Linked DNA regions of Homo sapiens: region 2 is linked to region 1. Evidence: promoter capture Hi-C in 16 types of primary human blood cells and fetal thymus (Javierre and others, 2016). All regions are on one chromosome and are shown on one strand. Each heading gives the region's core, a stretch centred on a gene start or on the middle of the fragment in contact. The rest is flanking DNA. Distances are from core to core; before and after follow the strand shown. Region 1 holds the start of MIXL1 (Mix paired-like homeobox). Region 2 has its middle 22 kb from the start of ACBD3-AS1.

Region 1 (5,210 bases), core at 1,483-3,982:
CAGAGGGTAATTTTTTTTAAGTAGTTGAGAAGCTAGAGGCAAGGGGGCTGTCGAAATAATCTGCATGCAGAGTCATTGGAGCTATGATTGAACGTGAAGATGACAGGCCCAATTTTAAAAAGTAATAAACCTAGGATGAGGGTTGAAGAGACGGGGTAGAGTGACTTTAAGATTATAAGCCTTGGAGGGACCAGGAGAAAATGGCAGCTGTCAAACACAAGGGGAAACTGAGTCAAGCTGAGGCATTCTTGTGAAGAAAATAATGAGTTCTGAACAACCAGTCCAAAAACTAAAAACAGGCCTGGCAAGAAGGCATAGGGATGCAGACCAATGGAATGTGCAGGCTTGGAGAGAACACAGGTAAAAACGAATGCGGGAACTCTGGGGTGGGAGTGTGGGCTTAAAACGTCATTGACAAAGTGGCGGGGTACCTTCAAATGTGAGAGGTGCTGTCAAAACCATCATCAAGGTTAACAAGGACATGTCCTTAGCATGGAAGTCAGAAAGGACAGTATGCTGATGTGTCTCTCCCAGGCTGTCAGTCATGGCTCCTCAGAGCTTATCCCGAATTCTCCCAGAATCCTCAAAAGTTACCAAAGGCAGAAAAGATGTGTTCCTCCCATGAGTCCAGCTTTGAACCAATGTCTTCAGAGAGAGGGGAACAGGTTTCAAAATTCTGACCTTGGGAGCTAGAGTCAGAGATGCCCCCTCCAACCCCGTTTGGTTCGGGCAGGCAGTTCACATCTACCTCAAGAGGCAGCTGGGGCTTCAGACATTTCGTTTCAGTTCCAGGAGCACAGTGGTTGAGGATAATCTCCGGCCTAGCCAAAGGTTGGAAGGATTTCCCACTCTGACGCCGAGACTTGGCACGCCTGTTCTGGAACCATACCTGGAAGAGGGGAGAAAATAAAAGCTGCTTTTGGTTGGAGTTTTTTATGCTAACATTATGTTCACAGTTCATACTGGTAAGTTCCAGTTTAACATCCCCTGGCTTCCTCTCCAGAGCCTTGTCTTCAGAAAGCACTTGGGTTGACGATTAGAAGTTCAGAACACCTGGCTTTCCTTGCCTCCCCATTCCCAGATGGAAACATTGGAATAATGCCTAGTTCTATCTACTCTTTAGTTAGAGAAATTTTCATGAAAAATGGGGTCACAAAAATGGAAGCACTTAGAATTCTTAGAAAAAAACTGCATTAAATTATGAAGAAAACCTGTTTTTTAAGGTCTGCACTCCCTTGTCAAACTAATCAAGGAGGTATTTTGCTCATGCCAGCTGTTGAGACTGACAGCTGTATGACCGCCAGGGGTGCAGAGAAAACAAGTCCACTCTCCCAGTGTTTAAATGAGGGCTGCTACTTAAAACTGCGCTTGGACACCGACCACGGGGCTACAGACAGACAAAAAGGCAGGCTTCTCCTTACCAACTCTAAGATTCTGATCTAAATTACTTTAGATAATAAACACGGCCGGGCGCGGTGGCTCACGCCTGTAATCCCAGCACTTTGAGGCGGGTGGATCACCTGAGGTCAGGAGTTCGAAACCAGCCTGACCAACATGGTAAAACCCCGTCTCTACTAAAAATACAAAAATTAGCTGGGCGTGGTGGCTGGCGCCTGTAATCTCAGCTACTCGGGAGGCTGAGGCAGGAGAATCACTTGAACCTGGGAGGCGGAGGTTGCAGTGAGCCCAGATCGCGCCATTGCACTCCAGCCTGGGCAACAAGAGTTAAAACTCCATCTCAAATAAAAACTAAATAAATAAAAATAAACACACCTTGCACTAGATTTTTCAAACTGAAAACAAGCTCCAGGTGCTTCTCGCTTTATCTCAATTCGCTACATCCTTTCAAATCTAATCCCAAAACGTAACACTTGCCAAGAAAGTAGCATGGGGGTAACTTGGCGAGCCAGCCTTCCCCGTTTTCAGCTACCATTCTCACGCTCAAAGCCAGAGGAAAACCCCAACTGCCCCTCATCTGTGTCTTCTTCCCGGATAAAGAAAAAGTGTAAAACTTCTTATCTTCCTGCTGGGAATTACTTTCTGGCCATTTCAGGGGACCGGCTAGCCTCCTAGGAGCCCTTATTATATTTAATAATGAGAGAAATCGTTCAGTGCAGGCCTAAATTATTTCACACAGGCCTCGCAACCACCCTATGCAGCAGGTGCCGATATCACCCCCTATTTCAGTCTAGTACGCAGAGCCTCAGGGGAAGCACCGTGCCTGCAACGTCCCGGGTGTGGCCTCAGGAGCCCGCAGTCCAGACCTAGAGTCCGCAGCGCCTCCGCTCCAGCGCGCACTTGCGAACGCAGCGGGCCCTCACCTGGATCCTGGACTCGGGGAGCAGGGTGAGCGCGGCCAGGCGCTCGCGCAAGTGGATGTCGGGGTACCGGGTCCGGCGGAAGACGAGCTCCAGCAGCTGCAGCTGTTCGGCGCTGAAAGACGTGCGCTTGCGGCGCTGCGACGCCGACGGGGCGGCCGCGCCTTTGGGGGGCGCAGGCGAGCCCAGGCTGGCGGGGGGCGGCGGGGCCGGCCCGGGGTCCCGGCCGAGGAAGCCCGCAAAGGTCGCTGGGCCGGGGCCCGCGGGCGGCGCAGGGAGCAGGGCTGCCGCAGGGCTCGGGGGCGGCAGGAGCGCCCCGCCGGCGTGGGGGGCCCGGTACGCTGGAAACGCGGCGCCCTCGGCAAACTGGAGCGCACGGGACTCGGCTGTGGCCATCGCTCCGGAACCCAGCGCGCCGCTCGGAGGGGCGCGGGCCGCACTTATACCCTCCCGGGCCAGGGGCTGGGAAGGCGGGGCGGTGCGATCAAAGGTGGGCTCGGGGAGACCCGTGTCTCCTCCGGGTGCGAGCCCGCCCCCGGCCCCGCCAGACGCCGGGGAATAATCGCTTCCGCCGGCTGCGGGATGCAGGAGGGAGGCGTGAACTTGGGTCCCGGCCCCCTCCGTGTTCTTCCCCGCCCACCCGCCCGGACGGCGCAATCCACATCCCCGAAGGACTATTTGCCTGGGAGGGGCAGCCCGGAGGGGCCCGGGTGCGCGGGCCGCAGGCGACAGAACTCTCTTCTCCGGGTCAAATCCCCGTTAAGAGCGGCGGAAGCACCTTGCCTGGCCTGTGCCTTACATGGCCTGGGCCTTGAGCCTTGCCCTAGTCCCGTCTGTCCTCATCAAAGCTATTTATTTACCACCCCTGCTATGTGCTAGACCCTGTACCAGGTTGGTCAAACAGCCCGGCCCCTGTCTTCTGCAAGCCTCCCTAACACATCCTGAATCCAAGCGGGGAGGGGGGTGAAGATAAAGGATCCAGGGGGCAGCACATTCCTCCTGATTAAATGGGTGGGGGGAGTGGGGGGGTCTGGCTGGAATGTCCATGGGCCCACCAATAAAGATACCCTAGGTAGGGCGGGGTTGGCAACGTGCCCCATTAGCAGAGGATACGGCGCAGTTTGGCCTTTCTGGAGATACTCAACAATGCTTAAGACCCGTCTATTGGATGGGAGGAGATGAAAGCCACCTCATGAAGTTTCCACGCGCCCTGAATCATCATTCTTTCCTCTGCCCCTTGGGGCTCTGAAAGCTCCCATTTTCTCTACTTTGTGCTATGGTTATGGTTTCTCTATCTGCTAGATATAAAGTCTTAGCAAGCAGGAACCCACCTCTCCCTTTCTGAGTTTATTGAGTGTCTGCTTTGTACACCTATTCTGCGTGAGGCGCGGTGCTAGGCCCCTTAGTGAATGTCTGTCGAATTGGATGTCACTGAGCTCTCCTTATTGAAAGAGAAACCCATGGTCCACTATGGGAACTGCCCCACCACAGTGCAAGAACTCAAGAGAGGAACACAGAGGCCCAGGTCTTTTTGCCCCCAGCACCTGAGCGCTGATTTCACCGGGATCACTCACTGTGGTCGACTCAAAGGGAGATCTTTATTGGGAGGATCTTTCAGGGCACAATCCCCGTCCTGTCTCTGCATTCTAGAAGGTCAAAAGACAGTCTCAGAAGAGCTTGGATCTTTTTATCCTGGGTGGACATTCCAGGTGGCAAAGCGGAAAGTTTTCTTGGAGCTGCTGCAGAGAAGAATTTTGGGCTTGATTCTCTCCTGGCTGTGGTAAGGGGTGGGGTTGGCAGGGACTGTGTCCTGTGTAGCCCCTGAGGCCCTTCTGGGCAGCTGATATACTTACCTCCTGCTCTTCCATCTTCCTTCCACCCCTTCTCCTTTCTTTCCCCCTCTTCTCTTGGTTGCAGTGAGCCAAGATTGTGCCATTGCACTCCAGCCTGGGCAACAAGAGTGAAACTCTGACTCAGAAAAAAAAAAAAAAGTTAATTCCCCAGCATCTCCAAAACAGCCAACATCCATTGGCCAGGTGCAGTGGCTCATGCCTGTAATCCCAGCACTTTGGGAGGCTGAGGCGGGCGGATCACCAGGTCAGGAGATCGAGACTATCCTGGCTAACACGGTGAAACCCCGTCTCTACTAAAAATACAAAAAAAAAAATTAGCCGAGCATGGTGGTGGGCACCTGTAGTCCCAGCTACTCAGGAGGCTGAGGCAGGAGAATGGCGTGAACCTGGGAGGTGGAGCTTGCAGTGAGCTGAGATCATGCCACTGCACTCCAGCCTGGGTGACAGAGCGAGACTTCGTCTCAAAATAAATAAATAAATAAATAAATAAATAAATAAATAAATAAACAATTATTAGCCGGGCGTGGTGGCACAAGCCTGTAATCCCAGCTACTCAGGAGGCTGAGGCAGGAGAATTGCTTGAACCCGGGAGGCAGAGGTTGCAGTGAGCCAAGATCGCGCCACTGCACTCCAGCCTGGGTGACTGACTGAGACTCCATCTCAAAAAAAAAAAAAAGAAAAGAAAAAGAAAAAAGAAATTACTTCTCCATGCGAGTGGATTTCCCATTTCACTTGGGATTTTCATTGACTAGGGTTGGAAAGATAGAAGTCATATTGAGTTTCTACAAAAGCACTTGAAATTAAAATGATTTGCTACTTCTCTTCTTTGACAGACACTTATAAACATATAAATGGTTTTCACTATATCCAAGTTCTAGATTCCTGACTCAGTTACCCTGCTGCAGGCATACAATGGATATGTATATCACATATCCATTTGCTAATTCTTCTATATTCAGTTTTTCAATAGGAAAATGGGAAGAGCCCTATCCTTGGCAATATAATTTTTAAAATAATTATTGCAAGTTATTTTCCCAAA
Region 2 (5,706 bases), core at 2,649-5,148, 99 kb after region 1:
CTCATTCTTAGTGGGCAGGTCTTAGCAAGTCGTGTCATTCACAGCCCAGTTAAAAGATGTACTGGGCCGGGCACGGTGGCTCATGCCTGTAATCCCAGCACTTTGGAAGGCAGAGGTGGGCGGATCACCTGAGGTAAGGAGTTCGAGACCAGCCTGGCCAACATGGTGAAACCCCCATCTCTACTAAAAATACAAAATTTAGCCAACCGTGGTGGCAGGCACCTGTGATCCCAGCTACTCAGGAGGCTGAGGCAGGAGCATCGCTGGAACCCGGGAGGCGGAGGTTGCAGTGAGCCGAGATTGCGCCACTGCACCCCACCCTGGGCAACAGAGCGAGGATTCATCTCAGAAAATAAAACAAAAAGTTGAACCAAGATTGCAAAGTTCCCTTCCAGCTCCAAAACTCAAGCCAGGGGCCCTGTGAGACTTTCCCGGAAGTCTGGGCCCTGAGGTTGCTGAGGGCGCTTCCATGCAGGTGCCGCTTCCATCCAGGAACTGAGCTCTGCCCTTCCGTTTGTTTGTTCACTTCACTCCTCCCCTAGAGGCTGAAGTTGCTTCTGGGAAGGAGGCTGGGCACTTCTGGGCTGAGCCTTGTTTCCATAGCACCCAGCCACCCTGCCAGGAAGACACAGGTTTCTCCTGGTTGACTGTGAGAGGACTTTGACCCGCGCTCCGTTTCCTGCTGGGCCAGACTTAGGAGGAGGTACCGGGGCAAGCAGCACAGTGGGACTTGCAGGTCCCGGACCCAGCCCTTCATTCAGACCAGTTGTTCTGGAAGTTTGGGCCCCAACCAAGAGCAACAGCAGCAGTATCAGGAAACTTGTTAGAAATGCAAATTACCGGACCCCACCCTGGACCTACTAAATTAGAAACTCTAGGGTGGGGCCAGCCATCTGTGTTTTTGTAAGTCCCCAGGTGTCTCTCATGCACACCAAAGTTTCAGAAACACTTTATGCATTGTGTGCATGTGTGTGTGTGTGTGTTTTCTTTTTTTTCTTTTTTTTTTTTTTGCAGGATTTGACAGAGTCTTTATCTGGCTTCTGTTACATCTTATTCTGACTCAGGTTTACGGACACAATGCTGGAAAACCAGTTCCTGCTCTACCCACGCCTCAACTTGTTAAGAAGAAACAGTATCTAACACCGAGGCACGTCACATCTTCGCCATTCCCACTTCCTTTCTGCCCTAGGCATTCAATGTATGCCACCGGGGGCCATCAGGACTAGGGCTCTGCAACCACGGCAGCAGACAGGTGTGAAGCTCAGAGTCCCTCCTAACAGCCTCCCTCCAGCGTCTTCTTGGCCGCGGCGGCGAAGCAGCTCCGCAGGGCCTCGAACTCCCGCGCGCAGAAGTCCTTACTCGGCCCCGCAGGCGGCCAGCCGCTCGGGGAAGGCGCGGAGGCAGCTTCGCATGCGGCCCCACACCGCTCCGTCAGCCGACATGAGCGGCTATTCCCAGCGCCCCTCATGTGTGTGTTTTCAAAATGAGGTTTTGCTCTGTCACTGAGGCTGGAGTGCAGAGGTGCCATCATAGCCCATTGCAACCTCCACCTCCTGGCCTTAAGCAGTCCTCCTGCCTCAGCCTCCCAAGTAGCTGGGACTACAAGTGTGTGCTTGTTTTTTCTTTTGTAGAGATAGGGTCTTGCTATGTTGTCCAGGCTGGTCTTGAAGCCCTGGGCTCAAGCAATCCTTCCACCTTGGCCTCCCAAAGCACTGAGATTATAAGCATGAGCCTCCATACCCAGCCCAAGAACCCCCACTTTATTGTGTGATCAATTGTTCCAGTTTGCCCAGGACTCTCAGTTTTAGCACTGGGACTCTCTCTTTTTTTTTTAGACGGATTCTTGCTCTGTCGCCCAGGCTGGAGTGCAGTGGCGCGATCTCAGCTCACTGCAACCTCCACCTCCCAGGTTCATGCCATTCTTCTGCCTCAGCCTCCCGAGCAGCTGGGACTACAGGTGCCCGCCACCACGCCCAGCTAATTTTTTGTATTTTTAGTAGAGACGGGGTTTCACTGTGTTAGCCAGGATGGTCTCGATCTCGTGACCTCGTGACCCACCCGCCTTGGCCTCCCAAAGTCCTGGGATTACAGGCATAAGCCACCGTGCCCGGCTTTTTTTTTTTCTTTTTTCTTTTTTTTTTTTTTTTTGAGACAATCTCGCTCTGTCATCCAGGCTGGAGTAAAGTGGCACAATCTTGGCTCACTGCGACCTCTGTCTCCCGTGGTTCAAGCAATCCTCCTACCTCAGCCTCCCAGGTAGCTGGGACTACAGGTGTGTGCCACCATGTCCAGCTAATTTTTGTATTTTTTTGTAAAGACAGGGTTTCACCATGTTGCCCAGGCTGGTCTTGAACTCCTGAGCTCAAGCAATTCACCCACCTCAATCTTCCAAAATGCTGGGAGTACAGGCATAAGCCACCGCTCTCACCCATTCATTCAGTTTTTCAAAATCAGATCTGAGCTCCAGTCCTGGGAGCCTGGGGCAGCTTCTGATGCTAGGAGAGGCACAGGCCTGGCTACCACCATGGGTAGCAGAGGAGTGGGGTCAGCTCTGAACTTAGGAGAGTGATAGGAGGGAGAGGAGGCTGGGAGAGTAACAGGAGGGAAGGAGGGAAATTCTGCTGCCGCCGCCGCCGCCGCCGCCGCCGCTGCTGCTTTGAAGCTTTCCTGGGTAAATGGTGACAAGGACCACAAACCTCCTTACCTGGGCGAGAGCTTTGGGAGGTTTCAAAGCACCTTCACTTACATCACCCTACTGGATTCCAAATTACTCCTTAGAGCAGTGCCCATAAGAAATACTGCATTTGTCCAGTTTCTATTTCCTCTGCCTGAGCTTGAGCTGCTTTGGTGGCAGGGACCATCCCAGTGTCCCCATCAAACCTTCAGTGCCCAGTAGACAGAACCCTTGCCCAATCTTCCCGTCCAAATCCTGCATCTTCTGCAGGAGCTAGTTCCTCTGCAGGTCCTGGCAATATGGAGCACAGGGTCCATAGTTTTCCTCCCACCTATGGATTTCCTCTGGGCCATCACAGCCTGTTCCACAGACTGAATTTCAGCTCCCTGTCTTGGCCAGGGCACATCCTGTCTAATCACTCATGTTCACCCAGCTTTGCACCCTCTTCAGCCTCCCCACGTTTAAGCGAGGCAGCTGGCGGTGCAGGAAGAATATTCATCCATCTCCTAGGAGCTCAGGAGTCAGACCCTGGGCCCAGACTCCTGCAGCAAGTCGGGGCTTCTGTCACAAGCGCCTCACCTTACTGGCTTTGGCGCCATCTAGTGGACGCATCTGGGTCTGCGGGGACCGCAGCCCTTCCTGTGACCCAGAAGCAAAACCAGCAATTTACCTGGCCGTACATTATTTTTGAGTCCCGAATCCCAAGAGTCCACTCCCAACCCAGCTCAGCATGTATTGTCCACTGCCTGCTTAGTGCCGGACCAACACACCTTCACCTCACATCAACAGGGACTCAAACAGAGCCTCTTCCCCTCAAATCCCAGCCCCATACTCAACTGTGTGCACAAAAGCAGGCATTCGTCCTAACAAAGCAGAATGAAACAACCCAAACTTCCCTCAAGATGGGGAGCATGCATTCTACGGAATATTATGAAATGGATAAAAGGGTTTGCTGGATTGGAAACGTCTCCAAAAGCACATTAAAGAACAATACATACCGCATGATGCCGTTTATTGGAAGAAACAAACCCAAGCCTGATCCACTGTTCGCATATCCGTGTGAAATGCAGAGGGAGGGCTGGACACACACCAAGCTAATCACAGGGACCTTTAGGGAGGGATGGGGGTGGGGTAAGGGTGAAAGAGGCCTTTCCTTTTACACACCTTTACTGTGTATCTTTTTATATTTCTAAGGCAAAAGGTAAATTAAACAACCCCTGTGTTAAAGGTGGAGAGTGTCCAGGTTCTTGGCATCTTGAACAAAGAATTGGAAGAGACACACAAACAAAGCAAGGAAGGAATGAAGATTTTATTGAAAATGAAAGTACACTCCACTGTGTGGGAATGGGCCTGAGTGTAGGATTCAAAAGGCCCTGTTACAGAATTTGGGGGAGTTTAAATACCCCCTAGAGGATTCATTGGTTACTTCGGGTATGCCCTATATAAACAGAGAGGATGAAGTAAAGTTACAAAGTCATTTACCTGATATGCCCTATGGAGAGGATATTTCCGGTTATAGCTGAAGTGTGAATGAGCCTTATGTTCCCTGCCTCCAGACCCTATTTTCCTGCCTCACCTGGTGCCAGGAGCTGAGTCGCTGCTGCTCTCCCAGGTGCTCCATGATGAGCAGTGCTGGCCTTCTGATCCGACTCTCCCACACCCACACCAGCTGCCTTCCTGAGCCACCAGGCTCCCCAGTGGTGGCTCCTCTCCTTTGACGGCCTTGTCACCTCTCTGCAGTCTCTTCCCCTCACACCTGGCCGCTGCAGCCCCTCAGTGGTGAGCATTCGGTGGGCTGATCAGCATCCGCACACCGCTCCTAGTAAGGGGCAATCCCCATTTTGTGAGCTGTCATGGGAGCCAGGGCCCCTCCTCCCACCTCAAAGGCTAAAGGGGGCAGCATTCCTTCTCCCTTCCTGGGCATCTGGCTAACCCAGGCAAAGATGCAGGGACAGGAGCCCTCCCTCCCCGCTGTGGTGCCCAGCACCCCCGCCCATCATTACAGCCAATGCCTGTGGAGTTGTGGCAGGGGCTGCATTCAGCGATGCTGCAGCCCAGTAGTGGTGGTGACCACAGTCACCTCCCAAGACTGTCCCCGGCTGTGGCTGTGGCCATCCAGACTCCTGGTCAGCTCCCTGAGCTCCCCACAATACTCCCAAGGACTCCTTTTCTACTTAGTCATCAGGGTTGATTTCGATTGCTGGCCACCTCCCTTTGGGCCCTGGCCAGGCCTGTGGAGCTAGTCCTTTCCAAGTGTCACAGGTGAGTGACTGTGTGTGAGGGACAGCGGGTCAGTGTGATAGATAACCTGTGGTCCACATAGGGAGATGGTGCCATACCAAGAAACTGCCAGGACCGAGATGTTAAAGAGTCAGGGGATGTGACTTGCTAAAGGCAACCACGGGAGATGACTGTGCTGGGAAGATGGTTTCAAGAAAACTGGGAACCTAGGAAGCTTGGTGAGCACCCACTTGGACCTTCCCTGGCCTGGCAGGGCCTCCCCTTGGAGGGATAGCCCTGCAGCTTCCCCATCAGTGGGCAGGCTTGGGGAGGGCCTGGAGAGGAGAGGGGTCCCCTAAACACACCCAGCCCCAGGGCCTCAGCAGACAAGTGCTGGTCACCTATTATTTGTACTTATTGTAGTAAACAGTCACTTTTAGGCTGGGGGCTCACGCATGTAATCCCAGCACTTTGGGAGGCCGAGAGGGGCGGATCACTTGAGCTCAGGAGTTTGAGACCAGCCTGGCCAACATGGCAAAACCCCGTCTCTACTAAAACTACAAAAAAATTAGCCGGGCGTGGTGGCGGGCGCCTTGTAATCTTAGCTACTGGGGAGGCCGAGGCAGGAGAATGGCGTGAACCCGGGAGGCGGAGGTTGCAGTGAGCCGAGGTTGCTCCCCTGCACTCCAGCCTGGGCGACAGAGCGAGACTCCATCTCATAAAAAATCACAACAGTCACTTTTATGAGCAGTGCTCATTTCACCCCGCCTCTACCACACACTCGGCAGGGCGGCTTCACAGGTGCCCTTCCT

What was found. The method cuts DNA at HindIII sites, captures the fragments that hold promoters and counts their contacts. A CHiCAGO score of 5 or more calls a contact.
Region 2: a contact is called between a fragment that was not itself captured here and the fragment with the promoter of MIXL1 in region 1, in 4 of 17 cell types (megakaryocytes, endothelial precursors, naive B cells and 1 more). The highest score is 5.6, in megakaryocytes.

The regions. Positions count from the first base shown.
Region 1 is chr1:226,221,186-226,226,395 of GRCh38, reverse strand. It overlaps MIXL1 (Mix paired-like homeobox), which reads right to left and starts at 2,732. Exons shown (of 2, transcript NM_031944.3): 1 at 2,322-2,732; 2 at 1-889. The coding sequence starts at 2,714. The coding sequence ends at 584. It overlaps LOC124904528 (a long non-coding RNA gene), which reads right to left and starts at 4,257. Exons shown (of 2, transcript XR_007066907.1): 1 at 4,172-4,257; 2 at 3,898-4,057. RefSeq lists a silencer at 2,014-2,308 and an enhancer at 2,354-2,413. The HindIII fragment of the contact is 11,005 bases long and covers 1-5,210 here.
Region 2 is chr1:226,122,914-226,128,619 of GRCh38, reverse strand. It overlaps the pseudogene LOC112268255. Among named protein-coding and RNA genes, the nearest start is that of ACBD3-AS1, 22 kb to the left of the region's middle. RefSeq lists enhancers at 3,118-3,412, 5,647-5,706. The HindIII fragment of the contact is 2,467 bases long and covers 2,665-5,131 here.